2 separate regions of the Homo sapiens genome follow, and region 2 is linked to region 1. Evidence: promoter capture Hi-C in human tissues and cell types (Jung and others, 2019). All regions are on one chromosome and are shown on one strand. Each heading gives the region's core, a stretch centred on a gene start or on the middle of the fragment in contact. The rest is flanking DNA. Distances are from core to core; before and after follow the strand shown. Region 1 holds the start of MOCOS (molybdenum cofactor sulfurase). Region 2 overlaps RMP24 (ribonuclease MRP subunit p24).

Region 1 (3,898 bases), core at 398-2,897:
GAGGGGAGAGGTTGGCCAATAGTGGGCGTGAGAGATCACAGCTGGAGGAGATTTAGGGGATTAAGGAGGTGCGGTGCTGATATAATTACTCAGGTAGCCTTGAAGAGTTGCTTCAAAGAATGGAGAGCCTCCCTCCCCAGCACCTGTAGGCATTCATAGTACCCCTCTATTTCTGAGTGGTAGGAAATTTCCATAATTAATAGTTGAGAGAGAGAGAGAGAGAGAGAATACGAAAGAAGGGTGAGGAGCTGTCTCCAGCAGGTGACCCTGCGAGAGGGAAGGATGAGGAGTGAATAGAGAGGTTGGCAGAAGGCACCCCCGTCTCCCTCCTGACTCTCCCTACTTAGGAAGCCAGAGGAGACACACAGGAGGAGGCCACAGTTCTCACAGCCCCCAAAGGGAAAACACAGTTACCCTCCACAACACCAGGAAGTGACCCGAAGCGCTGAAATCAGCTACCCGAGTAGTGAAACCTAAGTCATGGTTGCTGTTCTGCCCCCAGAAGGGGAGCAGTCACCAGTTGTTCATCGCGACAGAGCAGATACACTCAAACCCCGGTGCCCTGTGCCAAGACGTGCCCACTTCACCTGCACACCCTCCTTGACCATCCGGCACGCGGCCCTGGGGCTTGATGAAGCCCTGCACCCAAAGTCCCTGGCAGAGGGATGAGTCACGAACTTGGGCCCTGGCAGCAGAGGGCTGGGTCGGCCAAGGCCAGATGGAGCTTGATTTGCAATTTCATCAGCCTGTTCCGCTCTGAGGAAAGGCACGATGTGATCTTGGTGTTGTCTAATTCACAGGCTCGCCCTGTTCTTAAAGGTGAAATTGCACTGTTTGCTAATTCTTCTAGTCCCCCAGAGAACTGGAGCTCAGAGGGATTGTTCTGACGCTGTAAGAGTAAGGAAAATGAGGTTTCGAAAATCAAAGCTGAATACAGGCTATCCCAGAGGAGTCTGCAGAGCGCAGCCTCGGGAGGCCCCGGCCAAGAGGCCTTGGCCTCCCGGTCCCAACCTGGCGCGCCGTCAGAGGTGCTGTCCCAGCCCGGGCGCTGGCGGTCCACGCACCGCTCCTACCTCGGGAGGACATCCGAAGGGTCACGGCCGCTGGACATGCTGTCTTTTGCAACCCCGGCCCCAGCAGGCCCTTTACAGTGAGGGGTCTCCCGCAAGAGAGGGCAAGAACCATCCTAAGCCCCGCTCGCGGAGGGCGGGAAAAGGGGAAGACGGCTAGGTTGGTCCTGCCCACCGGAAAGTCGGAAGAGTAAGAGTAGCAAGAAGCCTTGGGGCTGCAGGTGGGACCTCAGGGAGCCGTGTCTACTAGGAGGACGCGTGGACACGTCCCTCCTGGAGTTTCGATTCAAAATGCGCCCGAATGAGGTAGCGCCGCTCTCACTAGGAGCAAAAGATCCGTCCACGTCGGTTCCAGAAACCTCGTGTCCCCCAAGCCTGCCCGCCCGCCTCACCTGCCAGGCGGCTGAACTCGCGCGCCCGCAGCTCGCGCAGGCTGCCCGGGCCGTAGCCGTAGGCTAGCCGCGGTGCGCTCGGGTCCCGGGAACCCGCGAAGGTCCACAGCTCCCGCCCTGACTCCGCCGCCGCGCCGGCCATGGCCCCGGCTAGTCCATCCAGGCCGGCCGGGCCCGGGAAGTGCGCGAAGCCGGCCCCCGGCGACTCCGCCCCCGCCACGCCTCCCAGGCCTCCAGCCTCCCAGTCTCTCGGAATCCGCAGCCTAGGTGTGGCGCCCCGACCGGACTTTCACTTCTGGCCAGCCCTTTCCCCACCTGGGCGCGGGAGCGGGTGCCAGTCTTTAAACAACCTCTCGATGGGTCCCACGAAGATGTTTCCAGACCCTTGGAATGCCAAGTTCAAGTTTAGCTATGTCTCGCGGAGAGGCCGGTGGAAGAAGCAACGAGGTGATCTTTCCTGCTTGGCATCGGCATCCTGGAACCCCGCGACCCTCCTCCTCGCAGGGGTCTCGGGACCCTCACCCTCTCAAGCGGGAACCGGCGTCTGGCGGGGGCGGGGGTGGGGGCGTTCTCGGGTTGCTGCTACCCAGCGGGGCGTGTGCTTGCCGTTTGTTAGAATGCGGCTGACCAAAGGGTAGAAAAGGGGAAAGATTAGGGATCCACGAGGCTAATAAATTCTCAGTGGCTGCACACTTTCGGAACCGGGAAGCTCGGGGGCTTCCCCCGGAGCGGGCCCTGCAGCTGGGATCCAAGTGAGCTGAGCTTCCCCGCCCTCCCAACCGCGTCCTGGGCCCTACTTCCTGCCCTTGCCTCCCCAACCCTGCATCCCGCCCCGCACTTCCCGCACGTGGGTGTGGCCGGGCCCTCTCTATTAAAGCAAGAGTGCCCTAGGACAAAGCCGCCCCTGTCCCGGACAGAGTGGAATAAGAGCGCCTCCTTCAATCCCCACTCGCGCCTGCACCCAGAGCACCTGGGACACAGCGGCTCTGTCTTGGAGAACAGGTGCCTCAATAGGGAGGGCCTGGCCAAACCTATGCGCGGGAAGTGCGGAGCGGGATGCAGGGGTGGGGCGGCAGGTGCAGGTAGTAGAGCCCAGGCATGCGGTTGGGGGGTGGGGGGAAATCTCACGTGCGATCCCAGGTGCGGAACCCGCTGCTGGGAATGGGGTGGAAGCAAAACAGGTACTGCACGCACAGGCGAGGTGCCTCGTGGGGGAATCGAATGTCAGGGATGGTGGACAGTGCGGATGGGCGGCAGGTGCTGGGGCTCAGGGGAGATAACTCAGAGGCAGGCTCGGTGGAGAACCCAAGGCCGGCGACCAGGTGCAGGCGGCCCACAGGCCCTGGAGGCATACAGCGGGGGGACAAGGTGGGAAGGAGGCCTATGCCCCAAGAGCTCAACCTGTGCTGCATCCAGGCCAGCTGCCACCCAGGGTATGGGCCGCAGATGCCCTAGGATCCTTGCTGATGCATGATGCATACCGGTGCCCAGCGTGAGAGCCATGGGAAGGCAGCACGCAGCCCTGGCTCTCCCGCCCAGGCCCCTGATACCAGGCCAGAGAAAGACCCGCCACTAAGAGCTCATTTCCCCCTGGCCGGAGACCCAGGGGTCTGTGGACTGCAGCGCTAGGGTCCATGCCCAGGTACCCATATTCCTCAGTGGCCTCTGCCCACTGACCACCCCCGCTCTCTCCCTCACTGCTGAATGTCCAGGACCTTACTCGACAAACACCCATAGTTGTTCGAGGAGGAGTTAATGTACTGATGGATGGATGCAGGCATTTGCTCATTGACATCACTGCCCACCCCACCATCTGCTTGCCTTCTGGCCATGCTTCAAGCAGGCACTTTGGATACTGGACTGTCTTCTGTGAATGTGGCTTTGGGCAGCACTAATAACAAGAGCTAGTTACAGGGCCTCACTGTGTGCCAGGCACTGCACTGTGTACACTCTTACCTGTCCTGGTCGTTCAATGATTAAATATGCAGATCTAGGAGGTGGCTCTTACAGATGGGGAAGCTGAGGCAGAGAGAGGCAGAATAACTTGCACACGGGCACACAGCTAGAAGACAAGCTAGCACCTGGGAAGTCAGTCTCCAGAGCCCAGGCAGGGAAGTGTGTTTTGCTAACTCTCTGGTGTGAGCCACCGTGGTTCCCAGGGCCTCAGTTTCCCCATCTAAGTTGAGAGGGGTGAGTTGGTCCTCCCAGCAGCTGTTCAGTGTGTCACTCCTCACCCATCCTTTTAAAGCCCTGCTTCCTGGTGAGAGTCTCCCCTAGGCCAGGGTTTCCAGGCATTCATTTGCATGAATCCCCTAGAGAGCCTATTCAAAGGCAGGTTCTGACTCTTTGAGGTTCTGTGTTTCTAAGTAGCCCAGGTGATGCTGATGCCCCATTCACGAATGGCACTCTGAGGAGGGAGGGCCTAGGTCATTTCCC
Region 2 (3,802 bases), core at 1,283-3,782, 210 kb after region 1:
ATGTGGACAACTTCCCACCTGAGAGTTTCTATCTTTACTACTTTTTATCTACTTTCCAATCATGTGCTCAGAAAGGACCTTAGTTCTTAGTGTGGAAGAAGTAGAACTTATTAAATGTAGTAAGTCTTGGAATCTGCAGTTTGTGCTATGTGCTGGGCAACAAACTAGGTGTTGGGGGTACAAGTGAGACCACTCAGGTCTGCAAAGAGCTCACAGGCAGTTGGTAATGATCAGAAACAAGAAACTACAGGGTCACCAGAACTGTGAAAAAAAGTGGCCCCTCATAATGCAGTGGGGTTGGGGTGGAGGGCAGTCTCCAAAGTGAGACCTAAAGGAAAAAGCACATGCAGAGGCCCGAAGCTGCCAAGTACATGGTATGCATTGAGAACTGCAAAGAGCTCGCTATGACCAGGTGATCAGGAGCAAGACGAGTTCAAGAGAAACAGATGTTCTAGAGAGAAGTTAGTCAGAAAGGTAAAGCAGCTACCATGACCATTGTGTTGTGCCAAATGTTGTGGACACAAAGTGAATACCTGGCCTTTTGGTGCTGGCACCAGTTAGCACAATTTCATTTCATGCAACTATAAGAACAAGTTGTTAATCTTGGCCTTTGAGTATTTTTAATTGATAAATAATAATTGTAGGCCAGGCGTGGTGGCTCACACCTATAATCCCAGCACTTTGGACGGCCGAGACGGGCGAATCACTAGGTCAGGAGTTCGAGACCAGCCTGGCCAACACGGTGAAACCCCATCTCTACTAAAAATACAAAAAATTAGCTGGGCGTAGTGGCGGGCACCTGTAATCCCAGCTACTCAGGAGGCTGAGGCAGGAGAATTGCTTGAACCCAGGAGGTGGAGGCTGCAGTGAGACAAGATTGCACCACTGCACTCCAGCCCAGGTGACAGAGTGAGACTCCGTCTCAAAAAAAAAAAAAAAAAGACAAATAATAATTGTATATATTTATGGGACACAATGTGATGTTTCATTACATGTATACACTGGTGTAATCCAATCAGGCTAATTAATAGATCCATCACCTCAAACATTTATCATTTCTTTGTGGCGAGAACATTAAAAAACCCTCTTTTGGCTGGGCACTGTGGCTCACACCTGTAATCGTAGCACTTTGGGAGGTTGAGTTAGGAGGATTGCTTGAAGCCAGGAATTCAAGACAAGCCTGGGCAACAAAGTAAGATCCTGCCTCTACAAAAAATAAAAAAAATTATGGCTTCTTATAGTGGGAAATGAAAAAAATTAAAATAAAATATTAGCCAGGTGCAGTGGTGTGTGTCTGTAGTTCCAGCTATTCTGGAGGCTGAGGCAACAGGATCACTTGAGCCCAGGAGTTCAAGGCTACAGTGATCTATAATCATGCTATAGCACTCCAGCCCAGATGACAGAGCAAGACTCTGTCTCTTAAAAAAAAAAAAAAAAAAAAAAAAAAGGCCAAAAATCCTCTTTCAGCTATTTTGAAATATACATTAACTAGAGTCATCATGCTGTACAAGAGATCATAGAACTTATTCCTCTTAATTGAAATTTCCCCTCCCCCAACCACAGCCTCCAGTAATCACTATTATATCCTCTACTTCTATGAGCTCTACTTTTTTAGATCCCATGTAAATAATACAGTATTTGTCTCTCTGTGTCTGGCTTATTTCACTTAGCATAATGTCCGCTAGGTTCATCCATGTTATCATAACTGACAGAATTTCTTGCTTTTTAAAGGCTGAATAGTATTCCATTGTGTATATACACATTTACAAAAATCCATCCTTTGACAAGCATTTCTGTTGTTTTCATATCTTGGTTATTGTGAATAATCCTACAATGAAACACTGTAGGGCAGACATCTCTTTGACATACTGATTTCAATTCCTTTGGATATATATGCAGATATGGGATCATATGGTAATTCTACCTTTAGTTTTTTGAGGAACCTCCATACTGTTTTCCAAAGTTGCTGTACTAATTTATAGTATCACCAACAGTATGTTTCCTTTTCTAAGAAAGAAAATTTTAGTTTCCTATTGAGTGATCTATAATCAGGAATGTTCCAGATATTTACTTTTGCAATCAAAATAGGAATAAGGTTCAGGTTTTACTAAGATAGTTATGCAGATAATTGTGAGAAAATAAGGACCCACTTGATCCTATTCCTGAATTATCAACAATGCTATAGACACATGGAAGAAACCCTTGAGTGAATAGACCCTCTCATAAAGATCTCAATTTCCTTTTGAAAGACAATAACATAAATAAAAACTGCTGACTAAAGGAAGAAAAAACAGTAATGCCACTACTCAATGTATATATCTATCTTTATATACATACACATATATATCTATAGATATGTATCTACAAGGAACTTTCATATATTTTTTGATCCTCACAGCTGTCCTATGAGGTAGGCAGGTTTCAGGTATTCACACTAATGAGGTATTTTCCCCATAAACACTGAAGGATGCCAAGAAAAGTTTGCATTCAGATCTAGTTTCCATGTATTCAAAAAATGAATAAGAGTTTAAAAAGTTGTTTTACCAACTTTAGTTTCAGAATTGACATCAGGCATTTCTTATTTTAAAAGTCCACCCTTCAGAGAAGATAAGAAATTTCTGAAGTCCACCTTTGGAATCTTTTGGGATTCATTCTGACTAAGTAACATTTTTAGTTGAGAGAAGTGTTTCTTTGTTTTGCTGGTGTTCTTTGAGGAGCAAGTAGATACTGACTGTCCAGATGTAGGTGTTCTGAAAAGAAACAAAACCACACTTAGTTATACCAACAAATGACAATCATTTTCTACTCTTTTGTATTATGGCCATATACATGCACTGGCTATCCTCGGTGTATTATCATTTGACAAATCCCTGTTCAGTTAGATTTCCTCAGGAATTTCTGACAGAGAAAAGGGCAAGAACAAATGTTTAGGGCAAGAAAGTGTATTATGAATGGTTCAGTATTTTTTTTTTTGGAGACGGAGTCTCGCTCTGTCGCCCAGGCTGGAGTGCAGTGGCGCCATCTCAGCTCACTGCAACCTCTGCCTCCCAGGTTCAAGCAGTTCTCCCGCCTCAGCCTCCCAAATAGCTGGGACTACAGGCGCACGCCGCTACGCCTGGCTAATCTTTTGTATTTTAGTAGAGATGGGATTTCACCGTGTTGCACAGGCTGGTCTTGAACTCCTGAGCCGCCCACCTCAGCCTCCCAAAGTGCTGGGATTACAGGTGTGAGCCACCATGCCCGGCCGTGAATGGTTCAGTTTTGTTGGCACATAGGATGATTTAAGGCAAAGAAAGACAGGCAGACAGACTGGTGCCAGATAGGGCTGGAAAGCCATGCTAGAGCATTTATCCATATGCTACACAGTGATGCTTCTAATCAGAGCTATGCTCCAGAAAGATGATCACACTAAAAGAGTTTGATCCTAGAAGCAGGGAGACCCATGAGGAAAATCACTGCAGTAGTCCTGACAAATGGTGCATAAGGACCTGAACCAGAATATAGCAGCACTATGGAGAAAAAGGAGCAAAAAGATGAAAACAGGGAAGTAGGATATATAGAAATCGGTGACAAGGACCAAGGGAATAGGGATTTTTGAATGTACCTGTCATTTTAGGTCAAAATGTCCAGAAAGGTGTGTTCATTCACAGAATAAGGAACTCAGGAGGATGGACAGGTTTGAGTGGTTAGCTGTGGGGCAATGATGAACTAAGTTTTGAACATGTAGGGGACTGAAGTGGTTATATTTAGCAGGCAGCTGGAAATAGGCACAGGAGATGTTGGAAGTAGAGTAACATACCTA

Evidence for each region. Contacts are between HindIII fragments. The study calls those that stand out against the background at their distance.
Region 2: a fragment that was not itself captured here is called in contact with the fragment with the promoter of MOCOS in region 1 in 2 of the 25 tissues and cell types used here (heart left ventricle and mesenchymal stem cells).

The regions. Positions count from the first base shown.
Region 1 is chr18:36,185,246-36,189,143 of GRCh38, reverse strand. MOCOS (molybdenum cofactor sulfurase) reads right to left here and starts at 1,647. Exons shown (of 15, transcript NM_017947.4): 1 at 1,463-1,647. The coding sequence starts at 1,604. COSMOC (cell fate and sterol metabolism associated divergent transcript of MOCOS) reads left to right here and starts at 1,709. Exons shown (of 2, transcript NR_134605.1): 1 at 1,709-1,909. RefSeq lists silencers at 1,545-1,734, 1,580-1,843 and an enhancer at 2,603-3,425. The HindIII fragment of the contact is 25,317 bases long and covers 1-3,898 here.
Region 2 is chr18:35,977,783-35,981,584 of GRCh38, reverse strand. RMP24 (ribonuclease MRP subunit p24) reads right to left here. Exons shown (of 5, transcript NM_031446.5): 5 at 2,307-2,750. The coding sequence ends at 2,579. Among named protein-coding and RNA genes, the nearest start is that of RMP24, 7.0 kb to the right of the region's middle. The HindIII fragment of the contact is 4,569 bases long and covers 248-3,802 here.